Regions from separate parts of the Homo sapiens genome. Here regions 2 and 3 are each linked to region 1. Evidence: promoter capture Hi-C in 16 types of primary human blood cells and fetal thymus (Javierre and others, 2016). All regions are on one chromosome and are shown on one strand. The core of a region is centred on a gene start or on the middle of the fragment in contact, and the rest is flanking DNA. Distances in the headings are between cores, read along the strand shown.

Region 1 (3,524 bases), core at 1,025-3,524:
ACCCATGCCCCAGCTGCTGCCAGTTCCTACTAAGGGCTCTTTACTGCCACTCTCTCCCAGAAGAATGGCCCTCGGCTCAGGGTTAGCAGTGCCACACTCCCACCCTCATCCCGGAGGGGCAGCAGCCTGCAGCCACCAACCCCTCTGCCGCAATTAGGGCCAATTGTAGCATGCTCCTGGTGAGATGGGGTTAACGCTAGCCTCCAGCTGAGACGCCTTTTCCTTCCCTACCCAGCTTCCCTCTCGCCCTTCCTCCTCAATTTCACTTGCACAAGGATCTCTTTAGTGTTTGTGAACCTGACTGTATCTTAAGTTATACCTCAATAAAAAGAGTTTTGTTTTTAAAGGGGTGATTCTTTTACACAGCTCGTGCTATCTTCCCTTGAGATTCTGATCAACAGTTAAGAAATCTCACTCCCTCAGAGCAGAGATGCACTCCTTGGTGAAAAGGGACCAACATCCGTGGCCCGTGGGGTGTTCCTGCCTGCAACAGAGGCCGCGCGGCGCTGTGTAAATGGCATGGAGTCTCAGATGGTCTGCCACTAGCTTGCTGTGTGAATGGGCACTCCTTCAAATGTTCTGCAGCTCACCTTCCGAACTTGTAAGCAAGGCGATTTGGCCCTGAGATTCTCTGAAGTCTCTCCTAACTGTAGAAATCCTTTGATCTCATAAAACATTTTCATTAACGTGGAAGACCCTAAGTGCTACCACGACCACCCTTAACTGCACAGTACTTAGTTCTGGAGCACAAGTGACTTCCAAGCAATCACCATCACACGAACCTCAAAGCTGAAAAATTATCAGCACACTTCTCTCCCAACTCTTTACCCAGGTTCCCTTCTAACCTCAGAAACCACCAAACACAGCCCCACAGCACAATCTTAATAACAGCAGTTCCTCCTTGGCCTGCCAGCACCCACTCTGCGTTATGTGCCTACCTGGTGGTTGTGATATACAGAATATACTGATAGACAAGAAAAACTAGGTGAAGCATTTTAAAGAACATTTCAGAAATGATGGGAAGGGGTGGGAAGGGAGGGGCGGGAACAAGACCACACAGTGTTCAACGACTTAGCGGTTCCAGTGAACCAACTGATGCCCGTCTTCAGGGACAGACAGCTAGAAATTCTAGACTAGAACAGAGGCGTCATGGTTTGCCTACCCTTATCCTAAACAATTACCATGCGAACAACTTAATGTCGATCACAACAGATGTAAGTCCGGAGTCTCTCCACAGTTTCCAGGAGGCTGGTGGCAAATAATTGCCCTCGTCTTGGATTCAAACACGTGGCTATTCATGAGACGTTCTGCCTCTACTTTAGAGATTATCGACATCAGCAAATGCGTGCCGTTCACCTTCTACAACCGAAAACGCCCTTCAGGTGGCATTCGAAAAGCAGCCACTCCCTGATGCCATGCGGGAGCGAGCATGGAAAGCGCATTTCTGAAAGGAAACACCCAGAAAGGGTAAGTTCACCTTGGGTGGCACAAAGCGTGCCAGGGTTCACCGGCCTCCTGCATGGAAGGGAGCCACGGCCAGCGCGCCCGGGTCCCGAAGCGCAGTGGACAGGCAAGGCCCCCACGGGCGCGGCCTCGAGTTCCAGCCAGGGAGGCCCCGAGTCCAGTCCTAAGCCCCAGCCAGAGTCCTGGCCCCAAGTCTCGGCTCCGAGTCCAACCCCGAGTCCCGGCCGGAGCGGCCCCGAGATCCGGCGAGGAAGCCCCGAGTCCCCGCCAGGGAGGCCCCGAATCCAGCCCCAAGTCTCGGCCCCGAGTCCAGCCCCGAGTCCAGCCCCGAGTCCCAGCCCCGAGCCCCGGCCGCGCAGGCCCCGAGCCGAGGGCGCCCCGCCAGCCCGGCCCTCACCTTCCTGCTCGCGCCGCCAAGGGACACCTTGGGCCGCGTCTTGAAGTCGCCTTCGAAGCTGAACATCCTGGCAGCCTAGCCCATGTGCGGGCAGCGCCGCCGCGGAAGCAGCCGGGCGGGCGGGGCACGGGGCGGGCTGGGAGGCTCTCGGCGCCCGCCCGCCCGGCCCGGGGCAGCGAGGACGCGGCGGCCGGGAGGCGACCCGAGCCCGCCCCCGGGCTGTACCCTCCCAGCCCTGCCCTGGGGCGGGAGGGGCGGCAATACTGGAGGGGCGGCCCTGCCTCGCCTGCCCCTCATCCACGCCGGCCACAGCTCGGGCCGCTGCAGGGGCGCCCAGCGGGCAGCAAACCCGGCGCTTGCACCTGGAACTGCCGCCTCGGGAGGGAAGATGGCGGTCAGCCGTCAGTGCGTGCGCGGCCCTGCAGACGTGCGCGGCCCTGCAGACGTGCGCGGCCCTGCAGACGTGCGCGGCCCTGCAGACGTGCGCGGCCCTGCAGACGTGCGCGGCCCTGCAGACGTGCGCGGCCCTGCAGACGTGCGCGCCTCCGCCATTGACGGCACGGCGCTCTTCCCGGCGGTTCCGCTAGCGTGCGCGGCCCCGCAAGGCGCGCTGGAGCCTGGGGAGGACGGCGGTGACGCGGGCTGGGCACGCGGCGGAGTGGGCGGGGCCTGGTGCGTGCTGGGGGAGCGCGGCGAGGGGCGCGGGAGGTGTTGGGTGCGGGGCAGGGTGCGGGAAAGGTGGAGTGCGAGGCACGGGCCGGGATGGGGTGCAGGGCAGGGTGCGGGGTGCAGGGTGGGGTGCAGGGGCCGGCACCCGGAGCGGGCTGGGAGCGGCCAATCTGGTGCCAGACTCGAGTGAGGCGGGAAAGGAGCAGCTAGGCCCAGCCCGTCTGTTTACATCCCACCTGTTCTATGTCTATGACACGCACAGACGGACGTAAATATTTACCATGTACACAGACATGCGCAGATTTGCCTCATACATAGCACACATATGCATCTATAGATACAGCATCAATACATATAAATATGTATCATGTACACATACCTGTGTATGCAAAAATATTTGCTCCTGGACTTACCATGGGGCTTTGTCCTGATAAACCCATCGTAAGATGAAAATATTGTAAGTTGAAAATGTATTTAATGCTACAATAAACCCATCACAAAGTCAAAAAATTGTAAGTTGAGCCATTTTAAGTTGGGGACCACCTATACATAAACATGTGTCTTATATCCACACATACGTATACATAATATCTCATATACATGTGCATATACATATATATCATACACGATTGAAACCAATTTCTAAAAATTGATTTTTGGTTGTATACAAGGTGTGCAACATGATGATTTCATAGAGACATTGTGAAATGACTACCCTCTTTGTGTGTGTGTGGTAAGAGTACATAAAATCTACTCTCTTAGCAAAATTTCAACACACAATACGATATCATCTACAGTCGTCCTGCGGCCGAGCACGGTCGCTCACGCCGGTAATCCCAGCACTCTGGGAGGCCAAGGCGGGCGGATCACCTGAAGTGAAAAGTTCGAGACCAGCCTGGCCAACATGGTGAAACCCCATCTCTAATAAAATACAAAACTTAGGCCGGTGTGGTGGTGCACGCCTGTAGTCCAAGCTACTCTGGAGGCTAAGGCA
Region 2 (3,516 bases), core at 116-2,615, 2.1 Mb after region 1:
TCCAAGAGGTTTCCCCCAGCTATTCTGGCACATGGGAACCTCTTTTCTAAATCTCTGCTGCATTTCTACAGAATCCCACTAGTGTTAGGCTCGTGCATCCAAGTATTTGTTAGTTTTTTGAGAGCAGACACAATATTTTAAGAATTTCTCATTGTCCCTGTAAGAGTTTCCTGTCCATCACAACAGGGTCACCACTGGGGGCAGCACACTCAAATTACAATCATCTAAGAAGGTTTATCAAGGAACTACTTACAAAGGTGTAGGCAGGATGCATGGAGAGTGAAGGGACCTGTGGGGAGAAGCAGGTGAGCCCTCACCACCCTAGGTCCAAGGGATGAGAGGAAGGAAAGATTCCCAGGACCTGGAAGGAGAGAGTTGTATAGAATGGGCTCCTCTGCCAGCTCAAGGCAACCTGATGAGGAACCTGGGAAATAAACACCGTCATACCTCTCTCCTCCCTCCCCTCACTGCCCAGCTTTCTGCTGGGACTCCCCATTGACCAAATTCAACTAGAAGCCAATGTGCAAGGGATTCTACTTATATAATCTGCTCAGGTCAGCACCCAGGGGCGGAGAAAAAGGTGGAGCAGGATGGAGTACAGATCTGACATGGGGAGTGGGACAAATGGAAGGCATCTAACACATCCCTCACATGCCTCAGAGAACTACCTTGTGTTTGCTTTTTAAAAATAATGCTGTTTCTTTGTTGTTTGTTTTTGAGATAGACTCTCACTTTGTGGCCCAGACTGGCATGATCTCAGCTCACTGCAACCTCTGCCTCCCAGGTTCAAGCGATCCTTGTGGCTCAGTCTCCTGGGTAGCTGGGATTCCAGGCGTGCACCACCATGCCTGGCTAATTTTTTTGTATTTTCAGTAGAGATGGGGTTTTACCATTTGGCCAGGCGGGAAAAAGAATACGCTTAATCCTCTATGTATAAAGCCAGTAACCTCAAATTCAACAAATATCTATTGAGTAGCTAACGGGTATTTTTTTTGAAATTATCTTTGAGAATTTTGTTTTATATTACACTAATCTTAATTCATATAAGAATTTTTTTGAAAACCAAAAATGGCAAAAATTGGCAAGATACCATCAATGCCATTTTCTTTTCTTGGACGTGTAAGAAGACCACATCACCCAGCAGTCTCCTTTACAGCTTACGGAGGTGTCAGGAGACCAGGTTCTGGCCAGTGGAAATGGCTGGAGGTATGTGTGCCACTCTTGCTAGCTCAGCCATAGAAACTGCAGCAGGATACTCTACATGCTTTGTCCCCATCTGTACAGCTAACAAAGCCACATGACAGAAGCCAAGTCCCATTTGGAAGAAAGCTGTCCGAAGGAAGCCACCAAGGCGTTATGTGCAAGAAACTTTCTTTTTCGTTTTTTTTTGAGACAGAGTCTAGATCTGTCACCCAGGATGGAGTGCAGTGGTGCAATCTTGACTCAATGCAACCTCCACCTCACCGGTTCAAGCCATTCTCGTGCCTCAGCCTCCCGAGTAGCTGGGATTACAGGTGCGCACCACCATGCTCAACTAGTTTTTGTATTTTTAGTAAGAGATGAGGTTTCACCATGTTAGCCAGGCTGGTCTCGAACTCCTGACCTAAGTGATCCACCTGCCTCGGGCACCCAAAGTGTTGGGATTACAGGCATGAGCCACTGTGCCCGGTGGAAACTTTCAAAGTCTTATCCCACTGAAATGTAGTTACAACATGATCTTAATCCGGGTTTCTCAACAGTGGCACTATTGACATTTTGCACGGGTCCTTTGTCATGGAGGACGGTCCCATGCGTTGCGTGATGTTTAGCAGCTTCCTATCCTCCACCACTAGATGCCAGTAGCATCCCCTACCCCCTAGTTGTGACAACCAAAAATGTCTCCAGACGTTGTCAAATGTGCCATAGGGGGCTAAATTGCCCATGGTTGAGAATCGCTGATCCTGTTACCGCACTGTTCTCAGAGTGACGGGAGACAGGTATGGGACGTCGTTTCTAACCTTAAAGGATGGAACATTATAATACGTTATACATGTATTTTAAGATGATTGCTTCATTGGAGTACTGTAATTGTTAAATTGGAAACAACAAATGTGCAACAATACAGAATATTGTACATTCAAACAAGGGAGTATTATGTATTCATTAAATGATATAGATATTTATTGACATGGAAAAACAGTCTTGATTTTTTTGAAGTGGCAGAGTATGGGGTATAATTTTTTTTAGGGAAATATATTTATACGGGACAATGTCTAGAAGGATTTCCATAGTGGTTGCTTCTGGGCATAGAATTTGAGGTAATTTACAATTTCTCTTCACTTGTGATTTCTAGTTTTCCGACACTGAATAGCTACATGACACTGGTGGCAGCTGTGCCCCGCAGGTCCACTGACGGGATCTTTCCTGCAGAGAAGCAGTGCTCCTTTGAGTTCGCAGTTTCTCCTTCAACTAAACTATGGCCTGTTTGTGCCTGCAACTGGAGTATTCTGACCCTTTCATGAGAAGGTTAAATGTTGTCTATAAACCCAAACTGAAGGTTTACTAAACATTAAAAATATCTAATTTTAAGGGATGTATGGATAGCTGAACAGGAGAGATGAAGACTGAGACTGTTGTATACAATATAGAAATACATTTAAAAAAAGCCATTTGGAAATAATCTAAGTAACTGCCTCGAGTTTCCACCAGTAAGGGCAATTTGAGTTAAATATCCCCAAATCTACTTTTTTTTTTCTAATTTTTTATTTTTCCTAGGCTTAGGTTATCTAATTTTGCCAAATAGAAAATGAGAAACATATTTACTGAACTAGCACTGGCAGTAAGCAGGCTGTTTAATTCTCCAAAGGCTGATTATCAACAAAATGATCATGCTTTTAATTTACCTGGGGGAAGTCTAAAAATATTAATGCTCAGTGTCATATTTGGAAGTGGTATATGCTTCAAATTAAACAAATGCATAGCTTCTGTTTAATAAACTGATAGCTATCACCCTAAAATGGGTCATCCTTAAAGTGTCACAAAACCAGTGATAAGAATTTTATTTAACTGTGAATAAGATACAGCACTGTCAACATGATATTTTGTTCCTATAACTTTGCATATGGCCATTTTGGGGAAGATAATTTCTGAGTTTACCGCTTGCCTTTAAATATTGACTTGCCATCTTTACGTCCTCTGCTAGATGGGTTACTCTTCATGATGTCAGGATGCTAGTTTTTTAGACTGCCTCAGAGCATCCTTTATCCACATGAAATTAACCTAATGTAAACATTTTTATTTTTCATTACTGGCCAAGCAGTAGTATTGGAGACTCAGTGAGTGAGTGTGACACTGCCTCCAGGCCTTCCTGATGCTGTTGCCGTAAGATCCACTTGTGTGGACCGCCTTGCACAGTTCACGTGTGATATTTTACAAATACTGACTAGGTGATGGGGTTTTAAATAGCAGATTTATTTATTTATTTAGAGTCTCACTCTGCCACCTAAGCTGGAGTGCAGTGGTGTGATCTCTGCTCTC
Region 3 (3,568 bases), core at 1-2,500, 2.2 Mb after region 1:
AATGCACCTTTGGAAACTCCAGCGGGGTTTATGTACAAGACTTATGGCGCCACCTCCTGTCGATAGTTGGAGAAATGGTCTTATTTGACCTAAGAAGATCCTAAATTACAATGATCAAAGAGAATTATCTTTGAAATAGCTAGATTAGTTTATTTATATGCACAATTTTAAAAAGCCAGCTATGGAATCAAATAAAATAATTAAGAGAGTTACTTCCAATGGCACCCAGAAGCATCCAAAAGAGGTTTTGACAGAATTCTTCCCTTAGAGGAAGAAAATAAAAAGCACTCTAAAACCATTACTGAATTTTAAAAAACACTGAAATGTCTTCTTCTCTCCCTGCTCCCCTGTCTCTCTAAGCCTCCTTGTCAGAACTACCCAGCCCTGATTGACCTTCTCCTCCTCCTCCTCCTGCCCCTCCTCCTGCTCCCACTGGTTTGGCTCCATTTCATCCAGCATCTGGTAGAGGGGAACCTGCTTTATCAATCATGATCAAACTTACAGGCATAGTTAAAAGAATTCCTTGATCTTCACCAGGTTCCTATTGGTTTTGCTAGGAAATTTGAATTAAATATCCAAGCTTATGACCCTAGTTATTCTGACTTCTAGCAACAGATTCACATGTTAGTAGCAAAAATTAAAGCTAAAGGCTGGCTAGACAAAGCTCACTGGAGAAATCTGTTAGGGATCTTCATAAATGTTCAGAAGAGGACCATAGACAGGCTTGAAGAACAGCAAAGGCTTTGCATCAGGCTATCTCCTCAGTTTTTCAGAGTAGTCAACTGGAACAAAATACAATATCAACAAAATTCAGATGAGTCAGTAATATACTTTGAGGGCTGTGGAAAAAATTTTAAAGAATATTTAGTTTTATCCGAAGAAAGCTGTGCTAATCATCGAAATGATACTCGACTCCAGTTTAACAAATGAGTTAGATGAATTGGAACTAACAATGAAAAGACAAAGTTGGGCCACTTCTGATACTCATGATTTGGTCAGTCTCATTGACCGGTTATCTGATACCTTAACTGAAGAAGAAAGAGAGAGGGAAGCCAAACAAAAGAGCGAGGCTAATACAATTATGAATTTACAATTAAAACAACTATTCACACAATTTTGGCCTTCACAATACCCCTAGAAACTCCCTAATGGACCTAACCTTCCACTTTGCAATTTTTGCAAAAAGCATGATTACTTTCAAAAGAGTTGCCAAAAATGAAAAAGGAAAGAATGTTAACCAGTGGAGGCAGAAAAGAAAACAGGGGTGCTCCAAGGAACTTAAAGGGGCCTTTCATTTCCTCCTTACTAACACTGGGAGAAATAAAAATTATTATAAATGGAGAACTAACACAAGCACTTATTGACACTGGAGCCACATTATCTGGAATTAATCCCATCTTGGTACAAGGTCCCATTCCTTGCAGTAAACAAAGAATTCAAATGGTGGGCATCACAATCCTCCTGTATTGGCATACCAATCTCAGCCTGTAACCTTTCAACAGTGTTCGTTACAAGGAACTCATGCCCTCCTCTTTGTTCCATCAGACCCCATCCATTCAACAGGAAGAAACTGCTTAGAATTATGTGATACCCACATTTCTTTCTCTCAAAGGAAGGAAATATATTTAAAATTAGATTATAAAACTCAACTTTGAGACACAACAGATATTTTAATAAAATTTTCAAAATCTAATCCAATTGCAATCCATATTGCCATGAAAGACAATGAATTATTGCTTAATGAAGAATTACAAAATGTACTAAAGACAGTACTTGATCCATTGTGGTCAGTGTCCTCCATTGATATAGAAACTATCATCTCAGCTACTCCAATAAATATTTAAATATACCCATGGAAACATCTTCAAAATACAAGACAATACCCCTTGAGAACTAAAGCTCTAGGAGGGATAAAGCTTATAATGTCAGATTATATAGAAAGATGACTGTTCATTCCTTGTACAAGCCATTGTAATACCCCAATCCTCCTGGTAAGAAAACCAAATGTTAGAGAATGGAGGTTTGTACAAGACTTGAGAGCAATAAACAACATGGCAATCCCATGGCACCCTATACTGCACAAGCCTATGTTACTCACAGCCATTCCTTCTAATGTGGAATTCCTTACAGTCATAGACTTATGTAGTACATTCTTTAGCATTCTTGTAGACAAAAATAGCCAATTTCTCTTTGCCTTCACTTGGGAAAACAGACAATACACTGGGTCACACAGGCCTCCAAGGATATGCTGAAAGCCTGACTTACTTTTCAAAAATATTAAAAATAGGCCTCTCAGATGTTAATTTCCTGGAAATGCATACATTAATCCAGTAAATAAATGACTTCCATCTTGGAGAGCAAACAAGATGTTCTGTGAATGATGGGCTACATTTATTACAAAAGGCAGCCCTAAGAAAACAAAGTCTCTAAAGAGAAACTTCAATTTTGTCGAAGACAAGTGATATACTTAGGCCACCTAATATCCAAGGAAGGATGTTTTATTAATTCAGACAGACTAGAAAGGATCTCAGCTTTTTACAACCAAGAATGAAGAGATGGTTGAGTGGGATTTTAGGACTGGCAGGATATTGTAGAAATTGGATTCCAAATTTTTATTTAAAAGCCCAATCCTTATATGCCCTCCTTTTTGTTTTTAAGACAGAGTCTCACTTGGCTAATTTTTGTATTTTTACTTGAGACGGGGTTTCACCATGTTGGCCAGGCTAGTCTTGAACTCCCGACCTTCATTGATCCACCCATCTTGGCCTCCCAAAGTCCTGGGATTACAGGCATGAGCCACTGCGCCCACCTTCCTTATATGCCCTCTTAATAGAGAACTTTAAACCCTCTAGACTGGATAAAAGAAAGTCAACTAACATTAGAAATGACTAAGAATGGTCTTGCCAATGCCTCTTCTTTGGGGCATGTAAATTATAACCTCACATTTTCATTGTTTGTACATGAAAATGATGGAAATGCTTTAGATAATCTGACTCAGAAACATGAAGGCTGAAATAGACCTGTAGGGCATTACAGCCAACAGTTAGGCCCGGTAGCCAAAGGATTGCCTCTTTGCATGAGAGATATAACAGCAACCACCTTGTTCATTAAGATGACCCAAGGAACTGTGGTGGGAACTCCCCTTACTGTTTTTATCCCTCATTCTGTGGAAGCATCACTAAACTCACACCACACTGGACATTATTCAATTAGTAGACGAGCTTCACATGAGTTTTACTTCTTTCAGCTTCTCCTATCACCATCTCCAGGTGTAACCTAAATCCTGACACTCTTCTGCCTTCATTTTCAGATGAAACACTGCATAATCACATAGCCCCAGTTGATTGGCTCCTCTTTCCTAGGACTGACTTGCAAGAGACTCCACTGATTAATGCTGATGTTGTTTGAGTTACAGGCAGCTCTTATTTAAAGGATGGATCAGGGACTTACCGAGCAGGTTACACAACAGTATCTTCAACTGAAGAAATAGAAAGGCTTACCTTCCAGAAGCCACCTCACATCAACAAGCAGAATTGCATTGATCAGGGTTTGTCAGTTGGCGAAAGGA

What was found. The method cuts DNA at HindIII sites, captures the fragments that hold promoters and counts their contacts. A CHiCAGO score of 5 or more calls a contact.
Region 2: a contact is called between a fragment that was not itself captured here and the fragment with the promoter of UBE3C in region 1, in 7 of 17 cell types (total B cells, total CD8 T cells, total CD4 T cells and 4 more). The highest score is 11.5, in total B cells.
Region 3: a contact is called between a fragment that was not itself captured here and the fragment with the promoter of UBE3C in region 1, in 6 of 17 cell types (total CD8 T cells, monocytes, total CD4 T cells and 3 more). The highest score is 11.2, in total CD8 T cells.

What each region holds. Positions count from the first base shown.
Region 1 is chr7:157,137,676-157,141,199 of GRCh38, reverse strand. UBE3C (ubiquitin protein ligase E3C) reads right to left here and starts at 2,274. Exons shown (of 23, transcript NM_014671.3): 1 at 1,862-2,274. The coding sequence starts at 1,927. RefSeq lists silencers at 1,643-1,712, 1,763-2,152, 2,433-2,782. The HindIII fragment of the contact is 7,086 bases long and covers 1-3,524 here.
Region 2 is chr7:155,006,447-155,009,962 of GRCh38, reverse strand. No RefSeq gene overlaps it. Among named protein-coding and RNA genes, the nearest start is that of PAXIP1-DT, 4.8 kb to the right of the region's middle. The HindIII fragment of the contact is 4,873 bases long and covers 1-3,516 here.
Region 3 is chr7:154,924,206-154,927,773 of GRCh38, reverse strand. No RefSeq gene overlaps it. Among named protein-coding and RNA genes, the nearest start is that of PAXIP1-AS2, 2.5 kb to the left of the region's middle. The HindIII fragment of the contact is 1,336 bases long and covers 583-1,918 here.